Regions from separate parts of the Homo sapiens genome. Here region 2 is linked to region 1. Evidence: promoter capture Hi-C in human tissues and cell types (Jung and others, 2019). All regions are on one chromosome and are shown on one strand. The core of a region is centred on a gene start or on the middle of the fragment in contact, and the rest is flanking DNA. Distances in the headings are between cores, read along the strand shown.

What was found. The method cuts DNA at HindIII sites, captures the fragments that hold promoters and counts their contacts. A contact is called where the count stands out against the background at its distance.
Region 2: a fragment that was not itself captured here is called in contact with the fragment with the promoter of S1PR3 in region 1 in 2 of the 25 tissues and cell types used here (dorsolateral prefrontal cortex and spleen).

The regions. Positions count from the first base shown.
Region 1 is chr9:88,988,089-88,993,303 of GRCh38, forward strand. S1PR3 (sphingosine-1-phosphate receptor 3) reads left to right here and starts at 3,380. Exons shown (of 2, transcript NM_005226.4): 1 at 3,380-3,607. RefSeq lists a silencer at 2,926-3,220. The HindIII fragment of the contact is 13,055 bases long and covers 615-5,215 here.
Region 2 is chr9:88,464,835-88,470,362 of GRCh38, forward strand. SPIN1 (spindlin 1) reads left to right here. Exons shown (of 6, transcript NM_006717.3): 5 at 3,538-3,771. Among named protein-coding and RNA genes, the nearest start is that of NXNL2, 68 kb to the right of the region's middle. The HindIII fragment of the contact is 5,445 bases long and covers 282-5,528 here.

The DNA of each region.
Region 1 (5,215 bases), core at 2,130-4,629:
AAACTGCATGTCCTTTAACCACACTGTACCTGCTCACCAGGCTGTGGACACTAAATTGTTGGGAAAGTGAATATATTTCATTTTTTTAATTAAAAAAGCATGTAAGGTTATATTACATAATTGTGATATATAATACATTTATTCAAATCATATTTAAGTTTGGGGCCACATGATTTTCAAAAGTATACAGATATAACTCATAGTATCTTTCAATTTTATTCCCATAAGCCTAGATTTGATTTAAAGTCTAAGCGCAAAGGTAGAGAAATTTTTTAGTTGTTTAGTACCTGCCATTTTATTTTTCTCCAACTTTTTATTATGGAAAAAGTTCAAAGATACAAAGAAGGAGAACAGATTGTACAACCCCTTCCCTAAATCCACCACGTAGAACCAATAATCACCAACCTTTTGTCATATCAGCTTATGTGCACGTACTGTGCTGAACAATTTAAAATAAGTTTTAGACATGAAGACATTTTACCCTTTAATACTTCAGCAGCACCTCCTAAAATTAAAGCCATTCTCCTAAACAAACATTATGCCATTATCACACCTAAAAACATTAACAATAATTCTATACTATCAGTCAATATCCCCTCCAATTTGTAATTTCCTCCAAAATGTTTTTGTGTGCGTGTGTGTGTGCTGATTTGTCCAGCTGGGAGTCAATCCGGATTTGTACTTATTGTTATACTTCTTCTTTTCAGCTGTTCTTATACCAGAAGAATCCTTCACCCCTTTTTCTTGACATTGATTTTTTTTGGAAGAGCTCAGGACTGCAGAATGCCCACACTCTGGTAGTCCAGTTTTTCCCATGGTGTCATTTAACTCATGGCTCAAACTCTTCCATTTCCTGTAAACTTGCAGTAAAGTCTAGAGGCTTTGCAATTGATTCAATTGAAGCATCTTTGGCAAGCACACAGCAACAATGATGTTGTGTGTTTCTTTTGCATCACATAATGCCAGGTTGAGCCAGTATTAGTGACACTGAGTTTGATCTTCCTGTAAGGTACAGCCAGATGTCTCCATAAAAAAATGGAAAATGGAAAACCTTTTTCTTTTTTTTTTCCAATTAGCACCCGTTCGCCTGCACACTTTCACCTAAGGGTTTGACACCCACTAGTGCACACTGCCTGATTTAATTATTTCATTAAGGGTTACAGAATGGGGATTTCCTCATTCTCGCATTTCTACGTTTATGAGCTGGCATTCTTCTGTTAAACTGCTTTCACTTGTGAAACAGGATGCAGAGGAGGAGACTTATTCAACAGAATTGTAGGGAGGGCTGTTTCTCTCAAAAGGAGTGGTGAGAGAAGATGGTCTCTACCGGGGCATGGAGGGCTCCTTGTCAGAGTCTAGTGTCTGAGCTTTAAGGCCCAGGAAGAGGGCAGCAGATGGGGGTGGGGCAGTGGGTGAGTGAGAGGCCCGTGTGTGGGGAGACCCACTGAGGACAGGGATCTTTAGGCAAACGGAGCCTCACTGAAAGAGGAATTTCAGTGATGCCATGGGTCAGATCCTGGGTCTCTCTTAGGGAAACCTGCCATAAAGCATGAGAGCCACATTACTCCTCAGGGCTTCTGGGCTCCGATTCCGCAGACTAGTTTTGGAGGCATCACCACGCCTCAAGGTTGCTCTGTTATATCAGGGTAACTGACTTTCTCTAGGAACGGAGACTTGGGTGCCCCTTAAAACAACCCTCAGCCAGTATCCTAGCAGTAAATTTTTCATCACGGGAAGCAACTAATTGAACAGAGGTGTGATGAACCTACTGACCACTTTGGTAATATAGACACAGTGGCCACAGTATGCTGTATTGTTATCCTGGTTGTGACCAATGCCAAAGGAGCATGTTTCCTTCTTTTCTTGACTTGATGCTGTAGGAGTCCAACAAAGGGAAGCACATTCAGGCCCACATGAAACTTGGGACAGAAGTGGCTTCTCAGAGCCGTGCACCAGGCACTTTGAACAAGTTGGAAGGCTACAGTGCCGGAAGACTCCACAGTAGCACAGGCGAAGTGGCTTAGGCGAAAACGCTGGGAAGTACCCCAGCTCCCGGGGGCCAGAGCCTCTAGGGCTGGCAGCCTCAGCAGGCAGAGTCACTTGCCTCCTTCAGCTCAATTGCTGAGGGCTTGCGTTTCTCTGCAGGGAACAGGAGTGCCGCCGACTTCCACTCTTGGTGCCCTTCACCGCTCAAACTGCACCCCAAATAAGCGTATGCACCCTGCTCCAAGAGAAGGATGCGCTGGGCTGATCCTCTGGAGGCAAGAGGGCAAAAGACAGAAAGTAACGAGCGGCCTTTGCACAAACTCAACTCTCTGCAGCGGCCCCTGCGGCCCAATCCTGCCGGCCCAGGAATGCACGGTCGGATAACAGGCCTCTCCTTGCTTTTTCGTCTTCTTCCTCCCGCTTCTCTCCTCTCTCCTTTTCCTCCTCCTCCTTTTTCTTTAATTTTCTCCTTTCTCCCCAAGCTTCTACAGTTGTTTCTGTGTTCGCTCAATCATGGCCTTTGGCATTGATTGAAAATTTGGCAGTTCCTTCTCTCGGAATTCTGTTTGAAGCCTTCATATGGATTTATTATTATTATTATTATTTTTGCCACACAAAAGGGGCAAATCCGCGTGAGGAAGGGGGTCGCATGGGGGTCGGCTGAGATCTGCTGGCTGCCGGTCTAGGAGGGGCGCTGCTCTGTGCCGGAGTGGGCTCTGGTGCACCAGCAGAGGCTGGGGGAGAGTGCTGCCCCCGCCTGGAGCCCAAGTCTCTGCGTGCCTGGGGGTAGAGCGCGGAGAGGGACCAGGCAGGCGCCGGAGGGGACCCGCGCGGAAAAGGAAGAAGCCCAAACAAAAACGCTGTCCGGCGCCAGGCGCCCACCTGCAAGCCCAAGCCGGTGCTCGGCCAGTTACAAAAGAAATGGTCAGGATCTGGACAACGATAATGATAGTATTAATCCTCCTATTAAGAATCGGCCCAAACAAACCCTCGCTGTCAGGGCGACAGGCGCCCGCCCAAGCCCAGACCTCGGACCTGGTTCCAAGCCTGTTCCCGCTGGGTCTCTGGGCGCCCGGTTTCTGCACCTGGAGCTCGCCCGATGAGGACAAGGTCTGGAGGCCGGCCTGGGAACAGGGGCCGAAGGGCGAGCCGGACCCTAGGGGATTGGTAGGGTCGGGGAGAAGGGGTCCAGGCTAGGGGCGGGCGGGGCGCACGGAGACCAGGCGGCTTGAGCGGGAGGTGGGGAGCTGGAGGAGTGCCGGGTTCGCGGGCGGGGGACGGGGAGAGGGGGGCGGGGAGAGGGGCGGGAGTCGGGGGCGGCGAGGGGAGGGGCGGAGCGCGGGTCCCGCCCCGGCGGGCCGCTGGAAAAGTTTAGTCTCTGACTCGCTCGGGCAGAGGCCGAGGAAGCCGGTTCCGGGGACGGGCAACAGGGACTCAGGGACCAGAAGGCGGCTGCAGGACGCGACCGAGCAGGACCCCAGGCCCGGGAACGACGTCGCGAGCGCTGAGACTGCCGGGCCTCCCAGCCCATCTGGCATTCGAGCGCAGGACCGGGCGCCCCGGCACCGCCGCGCGCCACCCGCTAGGATGCCGGTGGCCCCAGCGCCCTCAGCCGACGGAGGTGAGAGGCGGGCCCGGGCGGGGCGCGGAACCAGGGTGGGGGGCTGGGGGCCGAAGGACCCACCTTTCCAACAAAATCCCCACCGATCCCGGGCGCGACGGGGACTTGGGCGCGCCACGGCGGCCGGAGCGCTCCACATCAGCACCCCTCCCCCAGAGCCGCTGCAGGAACAGGGAGGAGGCCTTTTCCACCGCACCCGGAGCGTTTACAACGGGCTGGAGCTGAATACCTGGATGAAAGTGGAGAGGCTGTTCGTGGAGAAGTTCCATCAGTCGTTTTCCTTGGACAATTAACAAGTTAGGCTTCCACAGTGCCAGGGCCTGGGGATGCTGGACGTGGGAGAGGGTTGTGGTCGTTAGCCTGGGAAAATCATTCTTTTAAACAATATTCGCCGGAAAATTAGTTTTTTCCTAACATTTCTCAAACAAGGCAATTAGGGCCGTCAGAATCGGTGCTGGAAGACGAAGTCCCCACAGTGCAATAATGAGGTTCCCACGGAAAATCAGTACGTTGTGTTCGTAACTGAGATAACAGCTAGAGAAGGGGCTTTGGGCTTTTTGAGTCTCCCAATAGTCAGTCTCTCTCTCTCTCTCTCTCTCTCTCTTCCTCTGACTTTCTGGCTTTGGACACTCCCAATGGTATATTTCTTTGTGGTGTTTTTATATTTGGATATAAGAGAGGAACTTCTTGTTGGATTTTTAAGGGAACACACTTCGTTTTGACCCTTCCAATAAGGAAAGGGGAGCTACAGGAACAGAGAGCTCTTTAGAAGGTTACTTTTAAATGGAGGCCCCCCCATTCATGGTACCCACTCCCACTTGGACCTCTGAGACCTCCAGAATTAGGCATCATTCTAAAATCTGGACATTAGAAGTCACAGACTTTGTATATAACCACATATTCATAATTTATCTTTTCAATGTTTTTTATTCATAGATGAAAATCTTGCAGGCATAGTTAAGAAAAATATAATTCCTAGAAAGTACAAGGGAAGGATTATGCTCTGCAGATACATGACTAACAAGGATAGCTGGCCATGCCCAGGGCTGGTGTTGGTTGAGGAGGTGGTGATGGTGCGGGGCATGTGTGTGTGTGTGTGTGTGTGCGCTTGAGGAGTTGTGGAAGTGTTCATATCTGTAAAGTATTATTTCATGGATGCAGACCTTAATGCTAGGTTGAATAACTTTGTTGCCATAGAAGAAGAACCGCACGTCAGGCTTTTTTCATTAGCAAACCAGTAAGCACTCACTTTGGGCCTCTGAAATCACTTCCATCACCTAACACCAGAGATACAAACTGAAGCTAGCCCTTAAGAGCCTCCCCCTAAGATTTAGAGAGAATGATTTCTCAACCAGTTTTCATCTTTGAAAGTGCCATTTCTCCCTTTATCATTGTGATTTTTATTCAAATGCATGAGTCTCTGATTTTCTACCATATACAAAGGGTAGAGACTACAGTTTCCTATAGAAGAAACTTCACATAGTGGCCGAAGGATCTTATTTCTCAAAATTCAGGAACTGGTTTCCTCTTTCTGGAAATTATGACATTAACTTGATTTCATGGTATCTCTTTCATCTTCCTCAATGCCTGTGCTGTATGTATATTTTT
Region 2 (5,528 bases), core at 1,754-4,253, 520 kb before region 1:
TTGTTGAAACAGATCTCCAGAACTACTTCATCTTACAAATCTGAAACTCTCTACCTATTAAACAAAACAACCTACCTTTCCTCCCATTCCCAGCCCCTGGCAACCACCATTCTACACTCTGTCTCTATGAATTTGACTATTCTAGATATCTCATAGAAGTGGAATCACACAGTATTTGTTTTGTGAGTAACTTATTTCACTTAGCATAATGTCCTCAAAGTTGGTTCATGTTGTAACGTGTGACAGGATTTCCTTTAAGGCTGAAAAGAACATTCCATTGTATCTATATACCACAGTTTGTTTATCTGTTCACCCATTAATGGACATTTGGATTGCTTCTACCTCTTGGTAGAATGTAAAATTGTACCATGTAAAATTGTGAATAGTGCTCCTGTAAACATGGATATGCAGATATTTCTTTGAGATCCTGCTTTCAGTTGTTTTGGATATAGGCACAGGAGTGGGATTGCTGGATCATATGGTAATTATAATTTTAATTTTAGTATCGTAATTCTAATTTCTTAGGTAGAACTACCATACTGTTTTCCACAGCAGTTGTACCATTTTCCAGTCCTACCTACAGTATACAAGGGTTCCAGTTCTCCATCCCTTAGTCAGCAGTTGCTATTTACTGTTTTTGTCATAGTGGTCATCCTGATGGGTGTGATACGATACCTCATTTTGTTTTGATTTGCATTTCTCTGATGATTAGTGATATTGAGCATCTTTTTATGTGCTTGTTGGCCACTTGTAAATCATCTTTGGGGAAATATCTACTCACATCCTTTGACCATTTTTTAATTAGGTTATTTTGATTTTTGTTGAGTTGTGAGAGTTCTTTATATGTTCTGGAGACATGAGTTTTAATGTAACAGTATGACAGATTTATTAATGGTTTCAGATTCTGCATTGTAACTAACCTTTAAGGAGCTAACTGTTGAATTCTGTGGTTTCATATAAGTATATCTAGAATTATCTGAAAGACGATTAGAATATTCTTTTCAGTATCATATCTTTGAGAGGCTGGATTTTATACCTGAACTGAAAGAGCAGATCATAACAGATTGAGTGCTAAAGCAGATATGAGAATCTACTTGTTCTTTTTAAAACCTAGACATTAGGAGATTTGCAAAAATGTAAAATTAAGCCACTCTTAATGTATTTTGATAGGAAATAGTTATTTTTAATTTAAAATGCATTGATATATAGGTATTTTTAAATAAATGTTTCTAGATTTGTTTTTCATTTTCTGAAGTAGTAAATATTGGTAGGCATTATCTATGTAAACAGATGCTTTTTTAGGTCTGTAGTAATTTCCATTTATGTTTTAATTTTTTTTTTAGAGACAGGATCTCGCTTTGTCACCCAGGCTGGAGTATAGTGGTGTGATCAGGGCTCACTGCTGTCTCAACACGTTGAGCTCAAACAGTCCTCCTGCCTCAGTCTCCTGAGTTGCTGGGACTACAGGCACTCACCACAGTACCCTGCTAATTTTTAACTTTTTGTAGAGATGAGATCTCATTATGTTGCCCAGGCTGGTCTCAAACTCCTGGCCTCAAGCAATCCTCCTGCCTGGGGCTCAAAGTGCTAGGATTATAGATGTGAGTCGCTGTGCCCAGCCAGTAATTTTTAAGAATGCACATGGAGTTCTGAGATCTAAGTCTGAGATCTACTGGCTTTAAGAAACTAGTGGGGTTTTTTTACTGTCATACACGGGGGGAATTCTGTGTAATTTTTTATTATTACTGCGTACTTAAAACCAGCCATACATGTTTAGGGTTTGCTGATAAAATTAAATAGCAATACATGTATCAAGAAAATCTCACTTTTTTGTTTCTTTTGATGTAACAGAAATAGAAGTTTGTTGAATGAGGAAAATAGGAGAGCTAATTGTTTGTTGTTGTTGTTTTTGTTGTTGTTAAGACAGGGCCTCACTCCCGTAGCCCAGGCTGGAGTGCAGTGGCGCCATCTTGTCTCACTGCAGCCTCGACCTCTGGGTTTAGGTGATTCACCACCTGAGCCTTCTCAGTAGCTGGGACTACAGGCCTGCACTGCCACACCTGGCTAATTTTTTGTATTTTTAGTAGAGACGGGGTTTTGTCATGTTGCCCAGGCTGGCCTCAAACTTCTGGGCTCAAGTGATTCGCCCGCCTTGGACTCCCAAAGTGCTAGGATTACAGGCGTGAGCCACCGTGCTTGTCTCTAATTGTTTGTTTGTTTGTTTGTTTGTTTTTTAAAGATAATTGTTTAAATTTGGTATAAAGACAGTTATCTAAAATTGTGGACTGGAGAAGTCTTAAAACCAATGGGATCCTTCATAGTTTTTCCAGTATTAAAAAGATGAAGGTGATAATTTTCACCACTTTTGAAAAATATTAAGGGCTAGGACCGTTAATCTATCATTTCAGAGACCTGAGCTCCCAACCACATGGGGTATCTGATTAAATCATACAAATACTGACCTGCTATGATCTAGGTATAAAACAAGAAAGGGAAGGTCTCTGCTTTCATGGGGATGTACAAGCAACTAACAAGTACACAAATAACATAAAGTGGGATAACTTTAGATCATGGTGAATGTTATTAAGAGGTAAAATTGGGTAATGTGACTGGGATTTGTGGGGCTACCTTGTTGGTCAGGAGAACTCCAAAAGGAACCGGCCTTCTGAAGGTATGGGGAAGAGCTTATCAGGCAGAGGAGAGTGTGTCCTAATGGGAGAGGAAGAAGAGCAGAGTAGAGAACGCATGAACAACAAGGAGGAAGATGGGAAACCTGAGGGCAGAGGCGTGAAGGCTTTTAGGGCTTGGGGGCTATGGTGAGCAGTTTGGTTGTTTTTCAAATTATAAAGGGAAGGCATGGGAACATTTTAGATCACACAATGTGGTATCAGTGACACAACGATTACTTTGGTTGCAGTGAAGAATAAGATTGTAGGAGCAAGAGAGTAAAAACCTATGCCTTAATAAAAAAATGGAAATAAGACTGAAGGAAAACAAACACCAATTTCTTTAAAAAAAAAAAACAAAAAAAAAACCCTCTGTGCCTTGAATAGCTTTTCTAAGTTTTAAATAAACGTTCTGTGGTTATGTAAGATGCTAATACAGGAGAAGCAAAGTGAACCGTATACAGGAACTCTACTATTTTTCCAGTTCTTCTGTAAGTCTGAAATTATCTCAAAATTTAACTGTTAAGTAAACAATAACAAACAGTATTTTATACCTTGAATGAACAATTAAAACTTTTGATTTGGGTACAGAACCAAGAGCAGATGAGTCCAGAAAAATAAAAAATCATATTTTTTTCAATTAACTGACTTGGGACAAAATACTTCTATTCTGTTGAATCCATCTCTGAGCTGGGGCCCAGTAGTTTGTCTTTGGTTTTTGTACTTTTTAAAGCTTTCCCAGATTCTGATGCTTGCTAATACGTTGCATGGACAAAATTTCAGGTGTAGCCTTCTTTAGTAAATTCAGTCTTCATAGTCGGTAATCAGCGAAACACTTTGTCAACTTTTTTTTTTTTTTTTTAATCCCCAGCGACATCTCGAATCAGCGATGCACACTTGGCAGACACAATGATTGGCAAAGCAGTGGAACATATGTTTGAGACAGAGGATGGTTCTAAAGATGAGTGGAGGGGAATGGTCTTAGCACGTGCACCTGTCATGAACACATGGTTTTACATTACCTATGAGAAAGACCCTGTCTTGTACATGTACCAACTCTTAGATGATTACAAAGAAGGCGACCTTCGCATTATGCCTGATTCCAGTAAGTATATATTGGCAACTTTTATATGTGATAATTAGAAGGGATTTGGACTTCAGTACAAGATATTTGATTGGCTCTTTTGCAGATACATTTTTATTTTTGGATATATGATTCTTTTAGTCATGCACAAACACAGCCTTTGAAATTTTTCATCCAGTTGTTATAAATGTTAGATAAGAAAATATTTGATAGTCAGTTCTGCTTGGCTTCTGTAATAAGATACAAGTTGTTTTATAATTATTAACACTACTACATATTACTTCTTGCTTTTATTTAAAAACATGATGGAATAGGGATCAGTAAAATACGTCCCCGTGTACCCTGCTCAGCTTTAACAGTTATCTCATCGCCTGTCTAGTTTTATCTGTTAGTCCCCCCAGTGCAATTATTTTGAATCTAATCCCAAGACATTGATTATTTCATCTGTAAATACTTGAACTTCAGAGCAGCGATCTTCAGCCTTTTTGTCACCGGGGACCAGTTTCATGGAAGACAGTTTTCTGTGGATTGGGGGTTGGGTGTGGATATGGTGGTTTTGGAGGCATTAGATTCCCATAAGGAACACACAACTTAGATTCTTCACATGCGTAGTTCACAATAAGGTTTGTGCTCCTGTGAGAATCTGATGCCTCTGCTGATCTGACAGGAGGCAGAGCTCAGACGGCAGTGCTCTCTTTGCCGCTGCTCACCTCCTGCTGTGCGGCGTGGCCCCAGGTGTCTGGGACTCCTGATTTAGAGAACATCAATTTCAGAAAACGATTGACTGCTAACTTTTCAGTAGCAAGTGGAGTACAGAGTCAGTGTTTAGACAGGTGATTTAGCTATTTCCACAACTAGTCTGTTCACACAGGTAAGGTAGAAGAGGATGTGACCTGGGCTAATTTCATTAGGCCTAGAAAACCTTTATTGTGGTTTTTGTTTTTGGACAGAGTCTTGCTCTGTTGCTCAGGCTGGGCTGGAGTGTAATGGTGTGGTCTTGGCTCACTGCAACCTCCGCCTCCCACGCTCAAGCGAGTCTTCTGCCCCAGCCTCCCAAGTGGCTGGGACTGCAGGCACCCACCGCCACACCTGGTTAATTTTTGTTTGTTTGTTTGTTTTGTTTTATATTTTAGAGATGGGGTTTCACCATGTTGGCCAAGGTGGTCTCAAACACTTGAGCTCAGGTAGTCCACCAGCCTTGGCCTCCCACAAGTGTTAGGATTACAGGTGTGAGCCATTACGACCATGTTAGTCCATATAGTTAGTCCATTTAAAATGTGCATTTCTGTACTTTTTAATATACGCACAGATATGTACAGTCCTCACCACAGTCGATTTTAGAACATTGTCATCACCTCAAAAGAAAACTTTGTATCTGTTAGCTGTCAGTCCTTTATTCTTCGAACCCCCTGGCCTTAAGCAACCAGTAATACTTGCTGTGTAAATTTCCCTGTTGTGGACATTCATATGAATGGACTATATGGTGTGAGGTCCTTTGTGCTAGCTTCTTTCCCTTAGCATATTTTGAGATTTCATTCACGCTGTAGCATATATCAGTACTTCATTCCTTTTAATGGCCAAATACGATTCCATTGTATGGATATACTACATTTTGATTAGCCATTCATCCAGTAAAGCACATCTGAGTTGTTTCCCCACCTCTTGGTTATTATGAATAATGCTGCTGTAAACATTTTTGTACAAGTTTCTGTGTGGACATGTTTTATTTCCTTTGGGTATATACCTAGGAGTGGAGTTGCTGGGTCATAATGGTAACT